Linked DNA regions of Homo sapiens: all the other regions are linked to region 2. Evidence: promoter capture Hi-C in 16 types of primary human blood cells and fetal thymus (Javierre and others, 2016). All regions are on one chromosome and are shown on one strand. The core of a region is centred on a gene start or on the middle of the fragment in contact, and the rest is flanking DNA. Distances in the headings are between cores, read along the strand shown.

The links. Contacts are between HindIII fragments. The CHiCAGO score rates a contact against its expected background, and 5 or more counts as called.
Region 1: a contact is called between a fragment that was not itself captured here and the fragment with the promoter of SNRPB2 in region 2, in 5 of 17 cell types (activated CD4 T cells, naive CD8 T cells, non-activated CD4 T cells and 2 more). The highest score is 9.1, in activated CD4 T cells.
Region 3: a contact is called between a fragment that was not itself captured here and the fragment with the promoter of SNRPB2 in region 2, in 7 of 17 cell types (activated CD4 T cells, non-activated CD4 T cells, total CD4 T cells and 4 more). The highest score is 10.2, in activated CD4 T cells.

What each region holds. Positions count from the first base shown.
Region 1 is chr20:20,045,762-20,048,487 of GRCh38, forward strand. It overlaps CRNKL1 (crooked neck pre-mRNA splicing factor 1), which reads right to left. Exons shown (of 14, transcript NM_001278628.2): 4 at 2,582-2,726; 5 at 2,004-2,170. Among named protein-coding and RNA genes, the nearest start is that of CRNKL1, 5.3 kb to the right of the region's middle. The HindIII fragment of the contact is 1,772 bases long and covers 591-2,362 here.
Region 2 is chr20:16,728,376-16,731,479 of GRCh38, forward strand. It overlaps SNRPB2 (small nuclear ribonucleoprotein polypeptide B2), which reads left to right and starts at 1,651. Exons shown (of 7, transcript NM_003092.5): 1 at 1,651-1,789. RefSeq lists enhancers at 762-1,630, 1,689-1,738, 1,789-1,908 and a silencer at 2,059-2,108. The HindIII fragment of the contact is 9,448 bases long and covers 1,388-3,104 here.
Region 3 is chr20:13,640,026-13,642,892 of GRCh38, forward strand. No RefSeq gene overlaps it. Among named protein-coding and RNA genes, the nearest start is that of TASP1, 2.5 kb to the left of the region's middle. The HindIII fragment of the contact is 2,746 bases long and covers 31-2,776 here.

The sequences.
Region 1 (2,726 bases), core at 227-2,726, 3.3 Mb after region 2:
ACCAACCATGTGATCTTGGATAAGTCACTGAACTTAGACGTCTAAGTCTCAGCTGTTTCATTTGTAAACAGGGAAAAATAATGCCAGCCTCACTGGATTACTGCCAGCTTTAAATGAGAAAATGTATGTAAAGCCCTTAGCACAGTTTCTAGCCAAAAGAACATGGCACCGTAAGCGGTCAATAATGGTCTGGTCATTAAATAGCACCAATTATATTAAAATATGAATACTTGAACTAATAATTAAGAAAAAAACATGCTATAAAAAGAAAACTGTTAACTAGAGTCAAAGCAGAAAGTTTTGAATTGTCATTTTAATCTATCTTCCTTGAATAAATCATTAATTTCCAAAGTAGTAATATATTCCAATATGGCAAAGAAGAGCATCAGTTCTGAAGCTGCTCTACTAGGTTCACATTCTATTTCCATCAGCACCTGTGAGAACCCAGTCAAGCTACTTAATCTCTCATGCCTCAGCTCCCTCATCTGTAGGACAGAGAAGTTCCTACACTGCAAGGATGTTATGAGGATTAAACAACAATATCTGTAAAGTACTTAGAATACTGCCTGGCACGTAGCAAGTGCTATAAAAGCTTTCGTCAAACTAATAATATTAAAATTAGTAGACATAATTAAGATCTTAACATTGTCACCTCAACAGAGAAGAGTAAAAAAATAAAAAGATCTTAATACTGCATAATAAAGTTGACTCTCATTATTTCTGGTAGTTATGTTCTATTTAGTCAATGCGAACACTTAATTATTGAGTACTGAACCACTGCTCCTAGGAGAAACGTGTATATATACAATCTCACATTCATCATCATCTTAAATCCTAAAAAGAACTCATCCTGGCAGATTCTATCTTCATTATTTTGTAAGAAAAGTGGTTCAGAAATGTTAAGTGACTGGACTGAGGCTGCCCCACTGACAGGGATTCAAACTCCCCGACTGGCCCCAGAGCCACAGCTCCTTGCACTACATGGCACTGGCCCTTCCTGTCTCCAAGCTCTAGGCATGGTTATATGAGGTTAAGACCAGAAGGCAAGCCTCACCTTGTTGGACTTCATGCTCTGTGCATGTCCACAAATGACTGTGAAAGTGCCACAATTACTGATTTTGGGGGTTACAAATAAATTTTAGCAAATACGTGATTTTGCAAACATGGAATCTGCAAATAGTGAGGAATGACTGTACTTCAGTTTCTAAAAGTGCTTTCATGTGTATCATTTAATCTTCGCAACAGCCCAACAAAGGTGTTTTTATTCTTGTTTTTAAGAAGAGGACACCAACTCTCAAAGGAGTTAAATGACTCTCTGGAGCCACACAGCTAGTAAACAGTAAACCTTGGATGAACTCCAGTAAGGTAGTAATGACCAACACAAACCTTAGAAAAACAGGACTGGCAATGGCAGCCAGGACCTTAGTACAGTTAGTCCTCCAGCCATGGGTTCCATATCTGTGGATTCAACCAACCTGAGATAAAGTATTCGTGAGAAAAAAGTGCTTCTGTATTGAACATGTCGTTTTTTTGCTTATTATTCCTTAAAATATACAGAATAACAATTATTTATATAACATTTACATTGCATTAGGTATAAGTAATCTAGAGATTATTTGAATTATATGGGAGGCTATGCATAGGTTACATGCAAATACTACATCATTTTATATGAGGGACTTAAGCATCACCGATTTTGGTATCCCCTTGAGTTCCTGGAAACAATCCCCCAGGAATATCATTTTCCACAAGGAAACATTAGCTTTTAGCATTACAATAAAATAAACCCAAACTCTCACTAGAAAAGACTAGTTACCCAGAATACAAATTTTCATTCTGACCAATCTCTTTCCCTACAAAACATAGGGAAGCTGATAAACTGGCATTCTTGACTTTGAGCCTGACATTAATGACTGTGTGTCCTGATCATGAGACATCTCTACAGGAGCAGCAGCAGCATCCAGGACAATCATGGCACCATACAGATCTCGTCCAAAGGATATATCGCTCATAAATGGTGCGGGCCCGATCCACCTCTTTGTATCTCAGCTCAAAGTTGATGTAGGAGTGCCAGGCTTGCTCCTCAGGCTGCCACTCCATCCAGCGCTCAAACACCTGCCGGGCACCGGCAACGTTTCCCAACATTTCCTCCATGTACGTGTACTTGTACCTGTAACAAAATCACCCGAAAATATCTGCTGTGGTTTAGTTCTTCCATTGTTGAATGGGAAGAAGATTGAAGATTTTACCTTTCTTAAAGGTTAAATCAAACATGTTTTGTCATTTGTATGTAAATCTGAAAAAGGATGAACCATTGGAAAAAAAGATTTTTTTTTCTTAAAAGTTGCCTAGTTCAACAAGAAGCTTATGAATAAAAGATTGCAATCAAAATTTTAGTTTTGATTACATAGCTATAGAACATTACGATTATGACTTAATAGACTATGGGACATAACAGCATTTATGTCTGAAGAAAAAGTAGGATATCAAATTAAACTATCATCATGTAAATAAAATAAATACAGAAGATGTGGAACTTTGCTAGTCTATAAAAGGCTGTTTTGTTAGATCAGAAACTTACCAGAACTGATTAACTCGAGGCAGCGTTGTTATGGCCCGGTCCCAGATATTTCGAGCATGGTTGACTTGGCGATTCTTCATTTCCATTTCTGCGTATTTCAGCCAGAGTGTAATATTTCGGTAGTCTACATCTAAAGCACGCTCGT
Region 2 (3,104 bases), core at 401-2,900:
GTAGTGTAGCCATCCTCATTATTATCAAACAGAACTAATTGCTGAGATGCTCATAGTAATATGCAAAACAGCTTGTCCTTTGTTATTTAGAAATTGTTTATATTAAGTTTATATTCTCTTTTAATTTGTTAAAGATATAATTCTTTGACTGAGATAGGACATTTCTTCTCATTGGTTTATTTATTTTAGAGATGAGATCTCACTATGTTGCCCAGGATGATTTTGAACTCCTGGACTCAACCAGTCCTCCTGTCTCAGCCTCCCCAAATGCTAGGATTACAGGTGTGAGCTACTACACTCAGCCATTTCTTCTAGTTTTAGATCTATATAATAAAACGATGCTTTTCTGTGATCCCTTAACATTCTCTACACTCAGGTGCATGTTCAAAGCATATTTGTTTTACTGTTGCCTAGTTTTCCATGTCATTCATTGAATTATCCAATGCATATTAATTATCAGTCACTTTTCCCATTACTAAGGGTACTTGAGTGAACAGAGCAGACAAAAACCCCACCCTTAAAAAGCTTATATTATTTTCAAGTTGTTGCAACTTTGGGTGTTTTTAAAAAATAAAAATTCCCAGCTGATAAAACCAACTTATTTGACAGCTACCTGCCTCACCAGTAGAACCAAGTTATAGCCAGAATTCAGAAATAACATTTTTGAGCATTTATTGTGTCTGACAATGTGCCAATCACTTTACATTTATTTTAGCTCATTTAATGCTTACAACAACTAGAAGGAGGTACTATTAGGATCCCTATTTTACAGATGAAAAAAGTGAAGGTCAGAGAGATTAGTTAAGCAGAGGGTACAAGATTAGGTTCCAGTTGACTCTTAACAACCATTTCATATTCCAGGTGATGCTTTACAGACATCTGATGAATGGATGGATGAATGAATGCATGCACTTTGGGAACTCCCATTCAGCTTGGCATAAATACTAACTCCTTAGAATACCCTAGAAAAATCTAGACCTTTTGTTGGAAGAAAAGAGTGGGAAGGGTGGTAGGGAATTATTTTTTCGAGTGAATTGAGGCAGATGATCTTACAGATGACTGGGTTCTAGTCAGCATGGTTGCCTTATCTGGTGAGAGATGAGAATTGGGCAGACACCAGTTCTGTCTGCCCTGGGCCCTCAAACTGAGTAGCCTCTGAGATTCAAGTTCATCAGCACAGTGTTGGAGGACAGTTCCTGCAGAGCCCCATGAATCAGAGGAGACTCGGAGGCAGGAGGAACTGGCTATCCTAAAGGTGATTTTAAACCGGGGTAGCTAGAGCCCAAAGAAGGGCGAAACCAGGACTAACTGCCCCATAGCATGAGGGGCAGCGCCTGTAAAATTACATAGGATTTGTAAAGGTGGAAGGCACTGTTGCGCCGGGTAAAGCTTCGCAAGGTCGTGGTAGGGGAAATGATTCACTCCCCTTCACTATTCCCTCGCAGCATGGTCCTCACAACCCCCTTCTCTTTCCCCATTTCCATTTCCGGACTCTTCTCCTGCCCGCAGGGCAGACGCACGCGCAGAGAGATTGCCAGCCCTGGCTGCCAGAGACCCGGAAGCATCGATCGGCTCTGTGCTCGGCTTCTAGACTTGTCGGCGCTCGATTGAGGAGCGTGGCTACGTTGCTTCCGGTGCCTGGCTCCGTTTCCTGCTTTTGGTTCTTACAGTAGTCGGCGTAGGCCTTAGGTGGGTTCGTGCGCCTTCTACCTCGCTGTTTCGGTTTTCCTGGCTCCTCGGCCCTTTTCTCCCCTGTTGCAGCTGGGAGCGGACGAAGCGCGAAGCTGGGGTGGGTACGCGTTTGGCCCGGGTTTGGATCTCGGAGGGGCAGGCTTGGGGGTGAGGAGACTGACTCTGGGGCCGGGCATCGCGTGGCAGCTCCCTTGGACTTCGTTAGGGGGCCTTGGGCGAAGGTGCTTGTGTCTGGAGAGGCGGGAGGCTTGCGCGTACGAAGTAAAGGATAGTTAATGTCAGTCTGCTCGTGCGAGGCGTGGACAGTTCACTGCGCTTTCAGGTGTCTTCCAGCGGCTCCCTTTTGGTGGTGGCGGGTAATTCAGGGTGTCCCTGTAACAACGCAGCCCACGATCAAACCTCGCATGAAACCCTGCAAGAGCCTCCCCTTTGTCCCCCTACCTTCACTTTGACCTCTGCCTCAGTCACTTCCCTTTCGTCGTCTCCTTTGCGACCCCTGCCCCTTCTCCAGATTTCGATTTAGGGGGTCGCAAGGCTTTGAGAAGCGTTACGTTTTACCTGTTACCTGCACAAGTGCAGCCCCTGCTTGTAGGCTCTTCCCTTGTCAATCATCCAATGCAGTTCACATACAGTGGATGCTCTGTAAATACTGTGAGATAAAGGAATATGTGGGGCACACAAGGAAATCATCCAAGTTCACAATTTGCAAGTAAAAACCATGTAAAAAATGCAATAGTGTGGTATATGAGGAAGACAAGTGTAGAGGAGAAAGCAAGGGCTGAATTTCCAGGCCTGATGCTTATTAGCTGTGTGACCTTAGGCAAGTTCCTTACCTGGTAATAGCTGTTAATAATAGCTACTCTTAAGTGTTTACCGCTGATGCAGAACTGTGCTAGAATTCATTTAGTCTTCTGAGTTCTATTGGGTAGGTTCTGTTACCATTCTTATTTTACTGATGAGGACCTGAGAGGTTAAGGAACTTCCCTCAGGCAAACAGCTAGTAAGAAGCATAAATAGGATTTGAATTCACATCTGGCTGATACTGGAATCTGAGTTTAATCGTCATGCCACACTGCTGTCATTGAGCTCCTTTCTTTCAAGTCGGTTAGAGATAACCTTGGAGTCCAGACAGCTTGGTGATGCTGTATACAAATTAATAGGTATGGAAGGACTTTGTAAGTGCACCCATTAAGTAGTTGGCAAACTTCATTAATGTCTAACCTTATGATTTTTACTGGATGTACATTTGCTACTTTGGTCATTTTTCTTCAAATCTACATTTTAAAATTATTTCATTGAGGAGGTGGAAAGAAAATGTCACGTGTCATAAGTGAAACGTAAGTGTAAAAATAAATGTGTTGAATTAAATGGTGTTACTAAAATCTGGCTAGGTATTGGTGCTCCAAGTTTTG
Region 3 (2,867 bases), core at 154-2,653, 3.1 Mb before region 2:
ATATTAATAGATGTAACCCACAGAAACAAAAGCTTTGGAGTGTTCTCTACTATTTTGGGGAGTATAAAGGTATGCTGAAACCAAAAAGTTCGAGAACCACTGATACCATTATTATAAATATAACCTATGTGGTTTTATTATGTAACTTGGGGCTTTTTTTCTTTCTCTTCTACCACTGACTTCTTAGGGAGGGGCAAGGGGAAGAAGTTTATTACATAGTAAGAATAACAGTTTATTACATAGCAATAGTAACTGAAACCGATTTTGTTACCTAGAAGTAGGATGGATATTATAACAAAACATAACATAATAACATCATAAAAGTAAAACGTGTGGCACTGGCTTTGGAACTAGGTGAAGCAGCAAGAGCAGGAAGGGATCCAAAGTATTAACAAGAGTCTAAAAGGACTTGAGGAAGCTGCCAATGAGGGCTTAAAGGGAGCTAAGGAAGATGTTATTGGAAGCTGGAGAAAATGGGGCCCTTGTTATATAGTGCCAGAAAGTTTGGCCCAGGCATTAGGAAGCAGACATAAACCATCCCCATTGTGACCTTTCTGAATTCCTCACCCGCAGAATCCATCAGCATAATAAAATAGTTGTTCTTTTGCACCTTTAAAGTGGATTTTTACACAGCAATATTAACTGGAACCAGCAGGAATAAAAGAAAGATGTTAAAGTTTTAAAAAGACATAGACATGCTCCCTTCCATTTCTTAGGCAACATTCTTCCTGGAATTTAACTACATTGTAATAATCATCTCCCAGTGCTGCTCTGTATACTTTTGTCTTGGGTATCACACCCAGATGCCACACAGGCCATCCTCTGGTAGGTGAATACTGCTCAAGTAAAAGTAACAAAATTCTTCGGACCCTTTTTTTTATTATTATTATTGAGGCAGAGTCTCACTCTGTTGCCCAGGCTAGAATGCAGTGGTGCGATCTCAGCTCACTGCAACCTCTGCCTCCCCGGTTCAAGTGATTCTCCTGCCTCAGCCTCCCCAGTGGCTGGGATTACAGGTGCCCGTGACCACGCCCGGCTAATTTTTGTCTTTTTAGTAAAGATGGGGTTTTGTCATGCTGGCCAGGCTGGTCTCGAGCTCCTGACCTTAGGTGATCCACCCATCTCGGCCTCCCAAAGTGCTGGGATTACAGGCATGAACCACCATGCCCAGCCCAGACCCAAGTTTTAACATTTTTAACCTGCATTGGGTACAGTAACAATGAGATCCTTTGAAATATTAATAACGAACAGTTGTAATATCTATTTGATTAACTCAACATGTTAAATTTGAAAGGAAAGTCTATACTAGTAAATCTCCTTCAGAAAAAATCTGGTTGCCTCCCTCTTCCTGTTCCCACCTCTCCCAAACCCGGAAAAGCAGCAAGCTGAGGAATTACTTCCTTTATCTCAAATAATCATGTCTGCTGCATCTTGATCTTTGTACTCTAAGTAAGCCCCCTCTGTCCTGGTTCCCTGGGGGTCTCCCTTTGTTTTGTATTCCTGGAAAACTATTGCTTTAACACATGTGTCAGAAATGTAGCAGAACAATAGTGATAGTTTTCAATTGTTGTGCCGCAAGTTAACACCAATTCACCTGCTTAAGACAACACAAATGTAATATTTCCGTTTCTGTGGATCAGGTGTCCAGGTCTCTGCTCAGATCTCAGAAGGCTGAAATCAAGGTGTCAGTCAGAGCTGCCATCTCATCGGATGCCCAGAGCGATTCTCCAAGCTCATTCAGGTGATTGGCAGAATTCAAATCCTTGCAGCTGTAGAGCTGGCCACTTTTGTCTTCTTCAAGGTCAGGAGGAGCAGTCCTCTCTGACTTTTCCACCTTGAAAGGACTCAACTGATTAGGTCAGGTCCCCCAGGATAATCTCTCCTTTGATGAACACAGAGTCAATGATTCGTCGTCAAGTTTCAGGAGGGATGGCCATCATATTCTCAGCTTCCATCCACACTCCAGGGGAGAGGATCATACAGGGTCTGTGCACCAGGGGTAGAAATCTTGCAGGTCATCTTAGAATTTTGCCTACCACGTGGAAAAAAGAAAGTTTCAATTATAGATGGACTGCGACAACCCTTCAAGCAGTCCTATGGTAGACAACAGTTGTTTCGCCTGCCCAGCATGAATTCCTTCTTATTTCTCCTAACAGCACCCCACTTCACTTCCAGGGACTGCCCTTCACCACTTGCACCCAGCGTAAGTGGGACTGTCCATCAGGATGCTCCGTGGGATGATCAACTGACCCATGCTAAGCTAAAGCTGCTTCTTGCCTGGAATTTGAAAATTGACAGCAATAATGCAAAGAGTAAAAGCAGTTGTTTATTCAACCAAGGTTACAGAGTTCCCTGTTACTGCTCCAGAGCTTGTATTTTTCCAAAACCTGCTTCCTTAGTTTTTCTTTCAATTATCTTAGGTACTCCCTATCCTTCCAACAAATTCCTTTTATCTTCTTTAATATATAAAATTTTGAGCAAGACAAATAATCCAGAGATTACTTGACTCCCATGTCAAGCCCTGATGACAACACATTGTCTTCGGAGCCCTGACGAAGACTGGTAAGATGAAAGGTGGCCCACCTGCCATCTCTGGTTTCATCCTTGTTGTCTGTCAATTATCTGGCCAGCTATGTTGTCATCCCCCATTCATAGGGCAATATAAATATTCTTCCTGCACAACAAACTGTCTGACCAGTTTGTGATTTAACACCTTTCTCTGCAATCTCTTAGCTTTTTTATTGTAACATGTAAAGAGTGTCCCCCCATTCTCATAAGCTTGTTATAAACATGAAATACAATTTGCTGAACCAGAACCAGTGTCAGCTTCTCAATCACTTTTTCCTAACCACCTTATTTTAAATTGC